Regions from separate parts of the Homo sapiens genome. Here region 2 is linked to region 1. The links are contacts of gene promoters, found by promoter capture Hi-C in human tissues and cell types (Jung and others, 2019). All regions are on one chromosome and are shown on one strand. The core of a region is centred on a gene start or on the middle of the fragment in contact, and the rest is flanking DNA. Distances in the headings are between cores, read along the strand shown.

Region 1 (7,060 bases), core at 1,408-3,907:
AAAAACAACACAAAACCCATCAACAGTAGAATGGAAAATGTGTATGTTCATTCAATGGAATGCTGTACAGCAGTGAAAAATGTATCTCTACATCAAGTTGGCTTAATTTCAAAAAACATAATTGCAAGTGAAAAATTTAAAAAGGAATTCAGAGTATGTTTCCGTTTTTATCACAAAAGTGGCAAAACCAAACAGTATATTATTCATGGATATATGTACTATAGGGTAAATATATCAAGAAAAGCAAGGGGATAATAAACATTTCTTAAATGTCTAAAAGTATTTACTTTTTTCTTATAATTAAAATTATTCTTTTCAAGATTTAAGTTGTATCCTAATGTATATTTATGTAGCAAATGACCCCAAACCCAAGAAAAATGGAACAAAATTGCCCTTTCTATCCTCAGAGAATGTGCCTGTGCATAGGTCATGAATTAACTATTTGAGAATTTTGTACAGCTAATTTCAAAACTTGGCACCAAAGGAGGAAATAAATGAATAGTTGTTTTCCTCCAGGCCAAAAAAAAAAAAAAAAAAAAAAGCACTACTATCAAAAAGTAACGAAATACAAGAGATGTAGTATAATATCAAAAGTTAATTATGTTTTCCCAACTCCCAAATAAATGAGAACCAAATACAGGTCTTTCTCAAATTTGAGTCACTACAAACTTACAGTTTTTGCAAGGTTTGCCTCCAACCCGACAAACTGGTGAACTTTTACGGGACTGATAAAAAAGGAGCAGAGAAGACTGGGGCTAAATGATAAAGGTTTCAGAGAACTATGATTATGGCTGTGCATTTTGCTTAGAAAAGTATAATTTTATATGTCAAATAATAGTTTCCTCTATGTATCTTAAATGGTACTATTTATACTATTTGAGGACTTTTTACATTTAACACCCATATTATTCTTACTATTGTGAATATCATGATCCATTCACACAATAGGGAAAGCCCACGTGTTCACCTTAATTATCGTTATTTTGATGAACTATTCATAAACTCCCAATATGTTTCGATTTTAAGTCTACTTTAAGATAATAGAATCTTAACTGAATGAAACAGAAAATTAAACAACTCATACAGTTTGACGGCTAGTTGAAAACATCCCCCTGAAAAACTTAGTCGTTGTGTTTCATGTTCTCTTCGAGAAAAATTTTTGGCCTGTCCCTAAAATTGGTTTCTAAAGGTGCTAACTCCATATAAAATTACAAATTAGCTAAATGGATACTCGGTCACTATTAGATTCCTTTCCAACAAAGGAAATAAATTCAAGTGGAATTTAAAAAAATATTTAGTGTAACTCAAATTTCCACAAGACACGGGAGATAAAAGAAACATGAAGTGAAACGTACTTACTTGTCACTCGTCTTGAACCATGACTAAGATGCTTTTACCAAGTGTGGAAACTTTGCCTACACATTATCAGAATGCTTATCTCAAGTATGACACCCTTGCTTTTACATGCAGGGAAGAGAAATGCCTTAGAGAGTAGTTTTGGTATCTCTCTGAATGGCAGAATAATAACAGATAAAACTAGCTGTCCTTTAGTAAATGCCTACTGCTTGGACCCTTTGAATATAATAGTTCATTAGTCTTCACAAAACCGCCAACGGGTAGGCATTAGTTTTATTCAGGTAGCACCCACGTTTTTATAAAAACATGAGGCTTGCAAGTAAACTATCCTGAAGACACAGAAACCTTTTAGCAAAGCAAATATGTATATTGGTGATATATATAGTATTGATATTTATATTTGTCACCAAAGATGGTCCTGAATTAAAAAAAAAAAGGAACGCTAATGTGCAACAGCTATGTTCACGAATGTTTACAATTGAACGCTTGCCCAATAATTTTATATAAAGTCACAGAGCTGCTCTGGAAATCAGCACCATCGTATGATGTTGAATTGTGATCACGAGTGAGCTAGACCTGGGTTTGCATCCCAGTTCTGCGTGATTTGGGGCAAGTTGCTTAACTTCGCTGTGCTGCAGTTTCTTTTACTTTAAGAAGGGCCCGCCACATAGGGGTGTGGGTAAAGCACATAAATGCTTTAACACATGTCAAATGTTTAGAGCAGGCCTAACCGCAGAAAACGCTCACAGCGCGTTAGCTGGCACCTCTAAGGTCCATCCAGCTCTGGCAGTTATCCTGCCTAACTTCAAGTTGTGTTTAACATTTCGGTAAAGACCGCCTGCAGTTCTGAGACTGCACGTGGCTGTCCAGGTGCTGCAAATTCTCGACACAGACTCCAGGAGGCGAGTATCTCCAGGACGGCCGGGGCTGCGGAAGCCCTGGAGCAGCTTCTATACTTTAGAGCTTTCATGGCACAAATGCCATGAAAGCTTGTTAAAAACGACCCGCGTACCCCCCTTAGGTGGCAGGTCTCAGGTGTGGCCCAAGTTTCAAGGTGAACAAGCTCGGTGAGTCTCCTGTGCCTGGGCGGAAGCCCGCCTTGGCGGGTTAACCGTTAACTAACGCTGAACCAAAACCCAAGAGGGCCTCAGGCCCCGCAGCGGCGCGGCCACAGCCGGAATGAGGAGTCCACGCCCGCAGCCCAGCCGGAAGCAGCTGGTCCCGCCAGCCCGCCCCCTGCGCGGCGAGAACAGAACTTACTGTCCCCGAGTCCTCGCTCCGCCTCCGCGTGACGCTACTGCACGAGCCAGAGCTCCAGACGTGCGCGGCGCCTCGACGGGGGCGGGGCGAGGCCGTCCACGTGACCCAAGAAGGCCCGCCCCCGGGACCGCCTCTATGGCATTGCCGGCAGATGACCCTGGTTGATAGAGATCTCTGGCCAACAGCGCCGCGCCAGCACCTTCAAACTGGCAGGCATACTCGTGTACTTGACAAATGTGGATAGCATCAGTTTACTTTTTAGTTGTTTGTTGATCTCATTACATTTATTCAAATTTTAGATGCGCCCAGCGACTTCATTCAGTTATTTACCCTATAAAAATATTTGCAGAAGGTCGTCGCGATGCTGGTAACCCATGTATAAGGATGTTAAGGCCGGGCGCGGTGGTTCACGCCTGTAATCCCAGTACTTTGGGAGGCCGAGGCGGGCGAATCACCTGAGGTCGGGAGTTTGAGACCAGCCTGACCAACATGGAGAAACCCCATCTCTACTAAAAATACAAAATTAGCCGGGCGTGGTGGCCCAGGCCTGTAATCGCAGGTACTCAGGAGGCTGAGGCAGGAGAATCGCTTTGAATCCAGGAGGCAGAGGTTGCGGTGAGCCGAGATCGCGCCGTTGCACTCCAGCCTGGACAACACGAGCGAAACTCCATCTCAAAAAAAAAAAAAATGTTTATTGCTGTGAAGTAGTGAAAATAGCTGAAGTGATAACACGGAGGAATGGTTCAATAAAACACAGCACAACAGTACAGACATGTGAATTACTTCGTAGCTGTGTACTGTATACTCAAAGGACAGGCCCATCATGTAATGAATATTAAAGGCAAAGCGTAGAATACTATATATGGTGTCCTCTCTTTAATGTAAACAATTATTTTTTGAAATACAAACATGCAGGTATGTACATAAACTTTTTCTCGAAAAATCAAAAGAAACAATAGTGGTTGCTTTGGGAGGAGATGGAGAGTTTTCACTTTCATATTATGAACTTTGCAATTTTGCTTTTTTCTCATTGTACTTCCCTGAATTGACAACAACAACAACAAAGAAAACCACCAAAACCCTCATATTTGTGTTCCGAGCTGGGAAACTAGATGAGCCTAAGTTTTTAATTTCCTTGACTACTTTCCAGTGCAGTGATTCTTAACCCTGGCTATGCCTTAGAGTCGCTTGGGAGTTTTGAAAAGTCGTAATGCCCAGTCTGTATGCCAGACCAACAAAATAAAACACAGATTATTTGGGGTGGGAAGGGAGTGGGCAGATTCAATGTATGTTTTTAACTTCCTGAGTGATTCCAGTGTGAACCCAAGGTTGAACACTACAACTTGTATTTAGTATGGTGACATAGTGATCTCAGGCTCTAGGGTGGCCCAATGAACTGGGGCAGCCGAAACCCAGGAACTTTGTCCATTTACCTCAGTGTGCTATATAAATGCCATTTTTTAAATGAGCCTCAACATGTAAGAAGTTGAATAGCTCAGAATAATTTGTTTCCAGTGCTAGTTTCTTCTGTTTTTTTTCTCTTCAATACAGTTTTATGGTGATCAATAATATTTTATTGGGTCATTTCCCTTTTGGCCATTTTTTTCACTGACCCAAACACAAATTAACTATCTAGTTTTGATGTATCAGTTATCAAAGATATAAAATATATTTTGATTTATTGTAATTTCCATTATCTGTTAGTCATCCCAAATGATTTTATTGGCACATGGAAGGTGTTAGTAGTCCCCAGCTTGTCATCGAAGGATTAAATAAGGTTTGCCATTTTAGAAATCCTTTTTTGCTTTGTCATATTCTGGGCATTAAAAAAGGACACATCTTAGATCCATCGACCTTAAATTTGATATTGAATAAACTGAAGACCTCAGTAGTTATACATGCATATACACACAAGTAGGATGAAAGAAGAGAAACTTTCTTTTATCTCTACCAAAAGTATTCATATGGTTAGTCATGTGATGTTTGGAAAGCTATAATGGAGGTCAGAATAAACTACCCTTCTCCACTTCCCAAGTGCACACACACACAAATGCACAAAACCATTCACACACAGGCATGCACATTAGGTAACAGCAAGAACCCATCCAGTCTATTTGGAAGTCATTATTGTTCAGAATAAAGTTCATAATTTCTACTGTTATTTTGCCTTTTTTTTTTCTTTAATAGAACAATGTTAGCAATGCTACCACTAAGTTTCACCTGTGGCCATCTTAGGGCAGGTACTACCTTTTCTTTCCTTCCTTCATTTGTTCTTTTAGCCTTTCCTTTTCCGCGCTTCTAACTTTGGCCTATTAGTGACACCTAGTGGTTCCTGTGGCCAGCTTTCCCCCTGATTTTGGCTCTCAATATCTTCATGTGTGGTTTCAACTGAAAGTTGTGAGCCTAGTCCCTCTGCCGTGAGCATCAGGCTGTTTCTAGGCAGACTTTTCAGGCACCAAGACTCCCCTCTTAGAGAAGTTAAAAACTTGCCTTCAATCCTAAGCCACAATCTGTCTTGACTGCTAGTGAAGGCACCTGTGTGCTGCTAGTTTCACTACAGGGAAGTTTGAAGGGTGTCCACCAATCTGGATTTCCTACTCCTTCACACCAGAAAAGGGTGATAATACTGCCCTTACTAGGCCCTGGAACTCAGATTACATGACAGTGAGTGTGGCTCTAAATACCACCTATGTGCTTATGACTCCTAAATGAATGTCTCCAGACATACGTTTGTTGGGGATGCCTACTTGACATTTCTATGGGGCTATTGTGGCAGAAACAGTGGTGTTCACCAGATATCCCATCAACTACCCCACATTTTCCAGCTCCACTTACAGTTTTTTGCGGCCACATGGCCAGTTTTGAACAATGGGCTGTAGACTGAAGCATAGAAAAGCTGAGATGAGACTTCTCCAGTTGCCTCTTTCTCTGTCATAAGAATTAACAACATTCTGGATGGTGGAGCCTCCACCAGCCTGGGTCCCTGAGTGACTATGCAGAACAGAGACTACATCTCCCCACCAATTTCCTAACTTCCACTAGGCCGTGAAAGTCACATAACTTAAGTGAGAAATAAATTTTTATTATGTTAAGGCCCCTGGAATTTTAAGGTTGTTTTTTATTATAACATACAATAGTTTAACCTGATAATTCATAGCTATCTCTAATTTCATTGTGTTCAAAATCGAAATACTAGTTCTCTCCCATAAATCTGCATTTCTTTGTCTTCTCCATCTCTATAAGTGACAACACTGTCCATCTTCAGGCTTAAGGGAGAAATCTGCATGTCTTCCTTGACTCTTCCCTTTTCCTTGTCGCACCCCTTCCTGCCCGTCTGTAGAGAAAGGAGTTCGCATAGCTGACCTGAGACTGCTATCCTTAAAAAGGTCTGCTTGTAAGGTTGGCCCTTCGCTGACATGTGAGAACTTGGCAGGTAAACAGTCCCTTACTGTCGTGCCAAAGCCCTATTAACCTCAGTAGGAAAGGAACCAGGTTCAAGAGGCCGAAGAAGAGACCTAGAGCCAGCAAACAAAACATGGTGTTTTATTAGGTGCTTACAGAGTCCAGTGGTGGTGGGATGGGCAGGAAAACTGCAACCGCCTGCAACCATCATGCAGTTTATATGGTATTTTCACTTTATACCCTCCCCCTAACAATCTCCACCTGGCAACCTTCATGTATCCCAAAATTCAGGGCCTCAGTCCCCTATATTAGATGTTTCTCATAGATAAAGAATGACTCTTCAGGTTAGCTACTCCCAGATTCCCTAGCTCAGAACATACATTCAGGTGCATCTGCCATATGGGGTCATTCTGAGGGTATGCATAAATTATTACTATCAGGTGAGTTTATCCGACACCTACACCTACACATACAAAGCTTTCCCTAAATAATAAAAGTGATTCCCTGTGCGTAAGCTATTTGTACAAACAATGCACTTGCTTTTCCTTCTGAGATTCTAGAACTTGGTACCTGCTAGGCAGAGGTGCCTGTGACCAATGTCCAGTAAAAACTCTGGCTGCTGAGGCTCAGTCTTTCCCTGGCAAAAACATTGCAGGCATGTTTCTACATTTTCATTTCTGGAGGAAGAATGCAGTCTGTGTGACCCCTCGCGAAAGGGAGAACACTTAGGAATCCTGCACACGAAGTCTTCCATGCTCTGCCTGAGTCTTTTTCTTTACAATCCAGCTGTGTATCCTTACTACGTTTCTGTAATAGCGTAACTGTAATGAGTCCCAGAATCTAGTGAATCTCCAAATGTGAAGGGGGTCTTAGGGACCCTTGATATCCCCCCATATCTAATCCAGCACTGAGTCCTGCCAATTCTTCCTAAAATTTATCTGAAATCACACCGCTTCTTACCTTATCTGCTATCACCACCCTGAAGGTACCATCATCTTTTATTTGTGTTGGACTTTGAGAGGGCCCAATAACACCTTTCTTT
Region 2 (7,060 bases), core at 3,214-5,713, 800 kb before region 1:
TAATTCTATTTTTAGTTCTTTGAGAAATCAAATATGGGGGTACATTTCAGGCATTTTCAGACATACACTGTTTCTCAGGAATCTACTTTAAAAAGTGCTCCATAAAAACAAGGGAAAATACCAAGATGGCAGGAGATATAGGGTCCAGAATATTGAATCCATCTTAAGAGAGTGGTAAGAGAATCCTTGATGATGGTGAAGGGTTCTCACACCAAGGTGCAACAGACATAAAGAGAGTCCTGTCCAAACAGTCCAGGAGGCCAGCAGGCTGTGGAAAATGTTCCCAGGAAGATGGCATTGATGGATTACATAACGCATTTGAACATAGTGAGAGAAGATTGGACAAATGGCTGAGAATTTAGGGTTGAATTGGTGAGAAATACATAGAAAACTAAGCAAAAATACACATGGCAAAGTATTTAAGAAGAAAAAAGCAATCATAGTCAATTATATACCTCAGGAGTGAATAGGCTTTACATAGCCTAATCATGTAAACCAGCGGTTCCCAATATTTTTGGCACCAGGGACTGATTTCATGGAAGACAATTTTTCCATGGATGGTGTGCAGGGTTGGGGGATGGTTTCAGAATGAAATTTTTCCATCTCAGATCATCAGACATTAGATTCTCATAAGAGCATGAAACCCAGATTCCTCGCATGTGCAGTAGGAGGCGGAGCTCAGGTGGGCATGGTTGCTTACTGGCACCTCACCTTACTGGCAGCTCACCTGGTTCCTAACAGGTCACGGACCTTTACTGTTCCATGGCCTTAGGGTTGGGAACCCCTGATGTGAACACTGAGTATGTGTCTATACAGAATTGTGATACAACTATGAAGGGGCAGAAGTTACTGTGGATGGCAAGACTGCATTGGTGGTTAAGCAGAGAGGGGCTTTTAGACTACATAATGCCTAAAACTAAAACAATCAAGAAAAAGGAAAATGATATTATTTAGAGATATGGAGGCAAAATGCTGAAAGCTATGAAAGTGGGATGATTGTCTTGGAGAAGCTGGATATGGGGCAGGCTGGGGAGGGCAGAGAATTGTTGTTTTTCATAATAAGCCTAGCAGAAGTAATTGATCTAACTAGGTGTATAAACTAAATAAATAAAGCACTAAGTATTTTTAAAGATACTATTTTTCTTCACAATTTATCCAGGGAGTTTAGGTCTGGGGAATGGTTGCATTTTTTAAATGGCATATGATCCAGTTAGGCAGCAAATAGAAATGCCTTTGAAGAGCTCTGCTTGACTACATTTTTTGATCAGTGATATGATGTTTATGGTCCAGTATACTAGCCCAGACTCCTCCCTTATGTGAATATGGTAAACCTGGGCATACTCTAGATATTTAGAGTGTCTGTATTGATCTTCCTGAAAGTGACTAAACCCACCAAGAGCTTCAAGAGTTTGCACACTAACAGAAATACATTCAAACATTCAATTTGTTCTGTTCTGAAAAGGCAGAAAGCAGCAGAAACATTATAGTTCAAAGAATTCATGTAAAGCTATAACAGTCAATAGGGGGCACGGAAACTGTTTCCATTGCAGCTAGCACAGTGCCTAGTACTTGATAAAAGCGCGATATACATTTGTTGAGTGAATGAATGAATGAATGAATGAATGAAATATAGCAAGTTGCTTTTTGGATAGCTGACAGGATGGTCTTCAAATGCCAGAGCAAAACATTTGGTCACTTGCTTTCACTTATCCTTTAAATCTAGCATCACAAACACTTAGCCTCAAAACCTCAAGGGACATAATTAGAAATATTTTATGCATAGATTTCCTGTTCCATTTGGAGTCAAACCTAAGGCTTTAAGATTTATAGCCCCCAGACATGTTAATACGCTTTCTGGAATTCACCTAGGATAGCAATGAGCAGTAGCTTTCAAAATGCCTTTCTTTGTAAGGGCATTTCAGTTGCATAAAAATATTCCAGACAGATGCCCTGAGCTGATTCTTGTCCCTCATCTCTGCACAGCCAGAATGGCCCTGGTTTTATCTTTTTTTTTTTTTTAACATATGAGAGTTCCATCCAGAATGATGTCTCCAGCACTCAAAATGTTTGAAAATCACTGATGTAGGACAGAGCTGTTCTAGCAGGGCAGGTTTTTACTTCTTGTTTTATGTTTTCCATAAAGATCAGAGCGGACATGGGGTTTCAACACACAGTGGACAGCATTAGAGCCAATTTAATTAGAATGTCACTGACAGGGCACCTCAGCTGATATCACATATATTAAAAATATATGTGATATATTTTACACACACACAACTCCCACATGCTTGAGTAGGCATCCAAGGGGTAACATATACTTTACTTTCCTATAAATAAATGTAATTTTTATTGTAACTCATATTTCCTTCTAAAATCAGAAGCTTTGACCAAGTGTTCCCAAGTAAACCCAGTCAAATTATTCCTCAGTCATTTTCATTTTAAACTCAGGCAATTTTAAGGTTCTGCCCTTGTCTATTTTCTGCCCGTGAGTAACATTTAAATTCCACAGAGGGCTCATGCAGGCACGTGTGTGGATGTGTGTGAGTGTGTGGATGGGTGTGTATGTGGATGAGTGTGTGTGCACACTTGTGTGTGCTGGGTATATGTAGTCGGTGGCTATTCTGTGCCTTCTGCTGGCATCAGCTGCTATTTAACTTCCTAGTCTCTGGAAATTGGTCCTTATGCCCATGACTTCTGCCACTGCCTGAGGTCCTAACATGGGTTTAAGCTTCCTCAAGTCCACTGGTGCTCTCTCAGCCACATCCAAGGCCCCTAGGGCCTGCATGCTTTCAGCTGTCACTGTATCACTTGCAAGTCTGAGAGAAACTCAAAGCTGTGTCTCATGGCTTCTTACGCCTGGGCTCATTTTGCTTAATTCCTCCTTTGCCACCATGCTGTGCAGCACCTATCCAAGAGTGCTGCCACACTGAATTCTCCGATGGGAGCCAGGCATTCATGCCCTCTCCAGGTCCGTAATTTAACCAACATGCACCAGAATGATCATTTGGATTAATTGGGCATCTCTTCTAATTGGCCAGTGCTTGTGATTTTCTGTTTGTTGAGTACTTAGGATCCTACCTTTCCTCCCAAATCCCCCAAACGACAGGAAGCTCAGTAACCCTCTTTCTTCTCTAGATGTTGGTCTGATGAGGACAGAAACTGAGGTGGCATGCTCATATTCCACAGATGCTTTTTCTTCAAGGTAACTCTTTTTTTCTAGCCCAGGCAACATTTATCCAGTCTCTAGGATACGGCAGCCTGACTCTTCATCTATTCTCTTTCCATTCCATTGCTTATGGCACAAACCTTATGCCTGACTTCCTTTGGGCTGGGCTTCTTGCTGCTCAAAAGAAACTGGATCTTGAATATCAATGACCTTGACTTTATAGATTTCCATCTCCACAGTGAGATTTAAATTTTATTTTTAGAGATGCAAAAGCTGAGCACCGACTGCTTATTTTCCTTTTGTGTTCTTGGTTTAAAACCCTGCATCCTCTCTGAAGCAATTCCTGCTGCTGACTGAGTAGGAAAGGAGCTTGGGGAACCCTGGTTAATATCTCAAAATTTCATCCTGCCACAAACATATGAGTGATGGGGCTGTCCAGTCCCTCCTTTCTGCAAACACAGAAAAAAGCCCCAAAATTACAGAGACACAATTGGCCATGATATCCCTTAAAGCCATGTTAATGGTAGAGCGGTTTGCAATGTAATACATGGTTATGAAAAAATAGTTCTTGTACCACAATAAAGTCAAGTTATATTAACAATAAGAATATAGGATTCTTATGTAGACCAAATGAGGGGTTGTCTCAGAAAGGTAATCTACGGAGTTCTGTGATTTTTTTTTTTTTTTTGTACACTAAAAATTATTTTGGAGCTGTGCATGGTGGCTGATGCCTGTAATCGCAGCACTTTAAAGAGAGTCACTATATCATTTGGAAGTCTGAGCTTGAGCTGAGGAGTTTGAGAACAGCCTGGGTAACATAGGGAGACTCCGTCTCTACAAAAAATAAACAAAATTAGCCAGGAGTGGTGGCACATGCCTATGATCCCAGCTACTCAGCAGGCTGAAGTGTGAGGATTGCTTGAGTCCTGGAGGTCGAGGCTGCAGTGAGCCCAGATCTGCCACTGCACTCCAGCCTGGGTGCCAGAGTAAGACCCTGCCTCAAAAGAAAAAGATTATTTTGCAGTTCTAAGTAGAACACTTCACCTCCATTACCCCCGGGTTTACCCAGATTCACACGTACCATGGGATGGACATTGGGCTTCTTTTTGTTCAGAACCCAGCATCAAAAACAGCAGAAAAAAGAATGCCAGTGATCTGCAGAAAATGCACAAGACTGAGGAAATTTACAGGACAAGACCTGACTGGGAACTTAAGAATTCCAGAGTGAGCCGTGGCATGCTCCCAAAATAGAAGAGTGGAACACTGGGAGAAGAGAAAAGATTTTTTAAAATCTATGAAGAAACTGTATGAAGAGGAAAAGAGAGGTAAAGTTAGAAAAACAGGAACCATTTCAGATGACTGCCCATGGAGGTCTAGAATACATTCAAAAGGGAACCATTATGTGTCTGGGCAATGAGTCCAGTTCTTTTCTGCAGAGCAAGAAGATAAAGTTGCTACATAAAGCCTTTCTTTTTCTTTCTTTCATAGCTCACTACTGCCTTGAACTCCTGGCCTTAATGCCATCCTCCCACCTCAGCCTGCGTAGTAGCTGGGACCACAGGTACACACCACCATGGTGTGTGTACCTCAGAAGCAATCTTCCCCAGCTTCTCTCATCACTTTTTATTGCCAGAAAACCATCCCTTTGTCACCCAGCAAAGAGACTGAAGGTGTTTTCCCCAGAGACACCAGGCACAGTTAAGTGTGGAGGCTTCACACTGAAACACGGAACTAAGTGAGGCACAGTGAGTGCAGTCCTCAGGGTTCTTGTCCTTTTCCTCTGGTGGCTGGCCCTTTTTGCTGAAGATTGCAGGTCAGGGAGTCTTCTCTCTGGAATCCAACTAACCCAAGAGGAAAGACTTAAAGACTCTGGCATTGAGGTTTTCTCAACTCTTCTATCTGGCCAGGCCATCCTGCAGCAAAACTCACAGTTGCCAGTTCCCATTTAAATGATTACGGATTTTCTTTTCTCGCTCTCAACTGTGATCTAGCAACATGGATAACTGGAAATTGGAGGAATGTCTTTACCATGAGAAAAGGGACTGAACCATAGGGGAAAAAACACCATAGTGGTCACCTTATTTTTGCAGGAAAAAAAGCAAAAAATAAAAAAATAAATAAAACAAAACAAGCAAACAAATAAAACCCCCTAGCATTAATATTCTCAGACATGAGAAGATATTATAACCATGAGAGAAGAACAGGAAGAAATTAAAAGGAACATTTATAAAATAAAACTGATATTTTAGAAATTAACAATATGATGGAGAAAATAATTCTAGTTGAGAAAAAATTTTCAGAAATTTTGGCATAAAGAAAAAAGTAAATAAGATAAAGAATAATTTTTATCTGTTATAGACAATGATTTGGTGGTAATATTTGAAGGAAAGAGGATATTTAAAATTACAGAAACCAGCAGATTGTACAGCTTGAGATAAAATGAGAGAATAATTCAATTTATACAGTTCTTTAAACATCAAAACATAGAAAACAGTAAAACTTTAAGTGTCAGAACATCAAGGCAGGTAGCAAGTTCTCAAACACTAAATTAAATGAGTCTTACTTCCATCACCAATACAGTGAAAAATCTGTTACATGAGGCTTATTAGCAAGTCATGATCTCAATGCCCCTATTTTTGATGAGAAGTGAAGGCATAACCTAGACTCACAGACTAGTGCAAAGAATGCCCCTTTATGTGAGTCAGTCCAGTTAGTCTTTACAAGCTCCATAAGGGGCAAGGTGGGGTGGACTCTCAATCCCTGTGGCTGCTTCTGTGACACCTCTGATTCAACCAAAAGAAATTGTTGACCAAACTTAATTTGCTTTTTCCTTCATTTCTTATATTGCTGTGATTCATTTGGAATGCCCTTGAGGTTCTATGTGTTATTAGATGCTGGAAAAATTTTGACAAGATCAAGTATACCCTAGCAACATGAAATAGAGAATTGAGATAGTTAAGAAGAAATGCTAGATTAATATTTCACTTTCCCTAAAATATGCATGTAGTTGAGACTAAAGTATTCTTAAAATTCTCTGCTTCGTTTTACTTCTAGGGTTAATCTCTGTCCGTGACTTGCAGAAGGATATAGAGCGTAGGCAATTGTTAAATAAATTTGATTCATGTATATCAATGATGCCCAATAGAATCACCTGGTGTGACCCATGCCACACCAATTAAATCACAATCTGTGGGCTTAGGGCCAGGGCATCAGTGTTGTTTTCAAGATACTAAGTGCAGCAATAATCGATAACCACTGATAAAGTTACTTCAATGCCTATTTATACTTTTTAAATTCGGTGATTACAAAACATATACTTTCTTTGAAGCTATACAGATATAGTATCCAAATTGGTGATCACAATTGATTAGTTTAAGTAGCTTCAAAATTGGCATGTGGCTTTCTTGACTAGGTTCCCAGAATCTAGATGTAATAGGTTGGGTGTTGGGGCAGGATGTAGAAACTGTTAACATTGTTCTTGGAGTGCCTGGCTGGCTTGAAGCAAAAGATTGATATACATAAATTTTATTGGATTGTAAGAATAATGATCCTGCGTCTAGTTATGCATCTTCATAGGAAAGGTTTTAAAATGTACTTTCAGGGCATTATATTTGAATCCAGCATTAATAAGCTCTGGAAACAAGAATGGGCTATTTTACTCTTGGTGAGAGGGCCAGAGCCTTACAGATGTATGCATGAGCAAAGGATCACCTGAACCTAATGATTATCTTCCTAATTGGCTCCTGGGAAGTTATGTATAAACATATTTTCATTGAGTCATTACTCTGTTTTTTTCCCCCAAGTTCAGTGGCATTTTCTCTGAAGAGATAATAATAGAGCTACCCTAACAGTGGAAAATAACCTCCAGTAGTCTATTAGAAATGGTTACAAAAA

Evidence for each region. The method cuts DNA at HindIII sites, captures the fragments that hold promoters and counts their contacts. A contact is called where the count stands out against the background at its distance.
Region 2: a fragment that was not itself captured here is called in contact with the fragment with the promoter of RFESD in region 1 in 1 of the 25 tissues and cell types used here (lymphoblastoid cells).

Annotation. Positions count from the first base shown.
Region 1 is chr5:95,642,374-95,649,433 of GRCh38, reverse strand. RFESD (Rieske Fe-S domain containing) reads right to left here and starts at 2,657. Exons shown (of 6, transcript NM_001131066.2): 1 at 2,617-2,657. The HindIII fragment of the contact is 8,810 bases long and covers 1-7,060 here.
Region 2 is chr5:96,442,974-96,450,033 of GRCh38, reverse strand. The region is part of intron 4 of LOC101929710 (a long non-coding RNA gene); the gene reads right to left. It also overlaps a transcript of CAST not described here and the pseudogene LOC102724070. Among named protein-coding and RNA genes, the nearest start is that of PCSK1, 13 kb to the right of the region's middle. The HindIII fragment of the contact is 3,815 bases long and covers 2,556-6,370 here.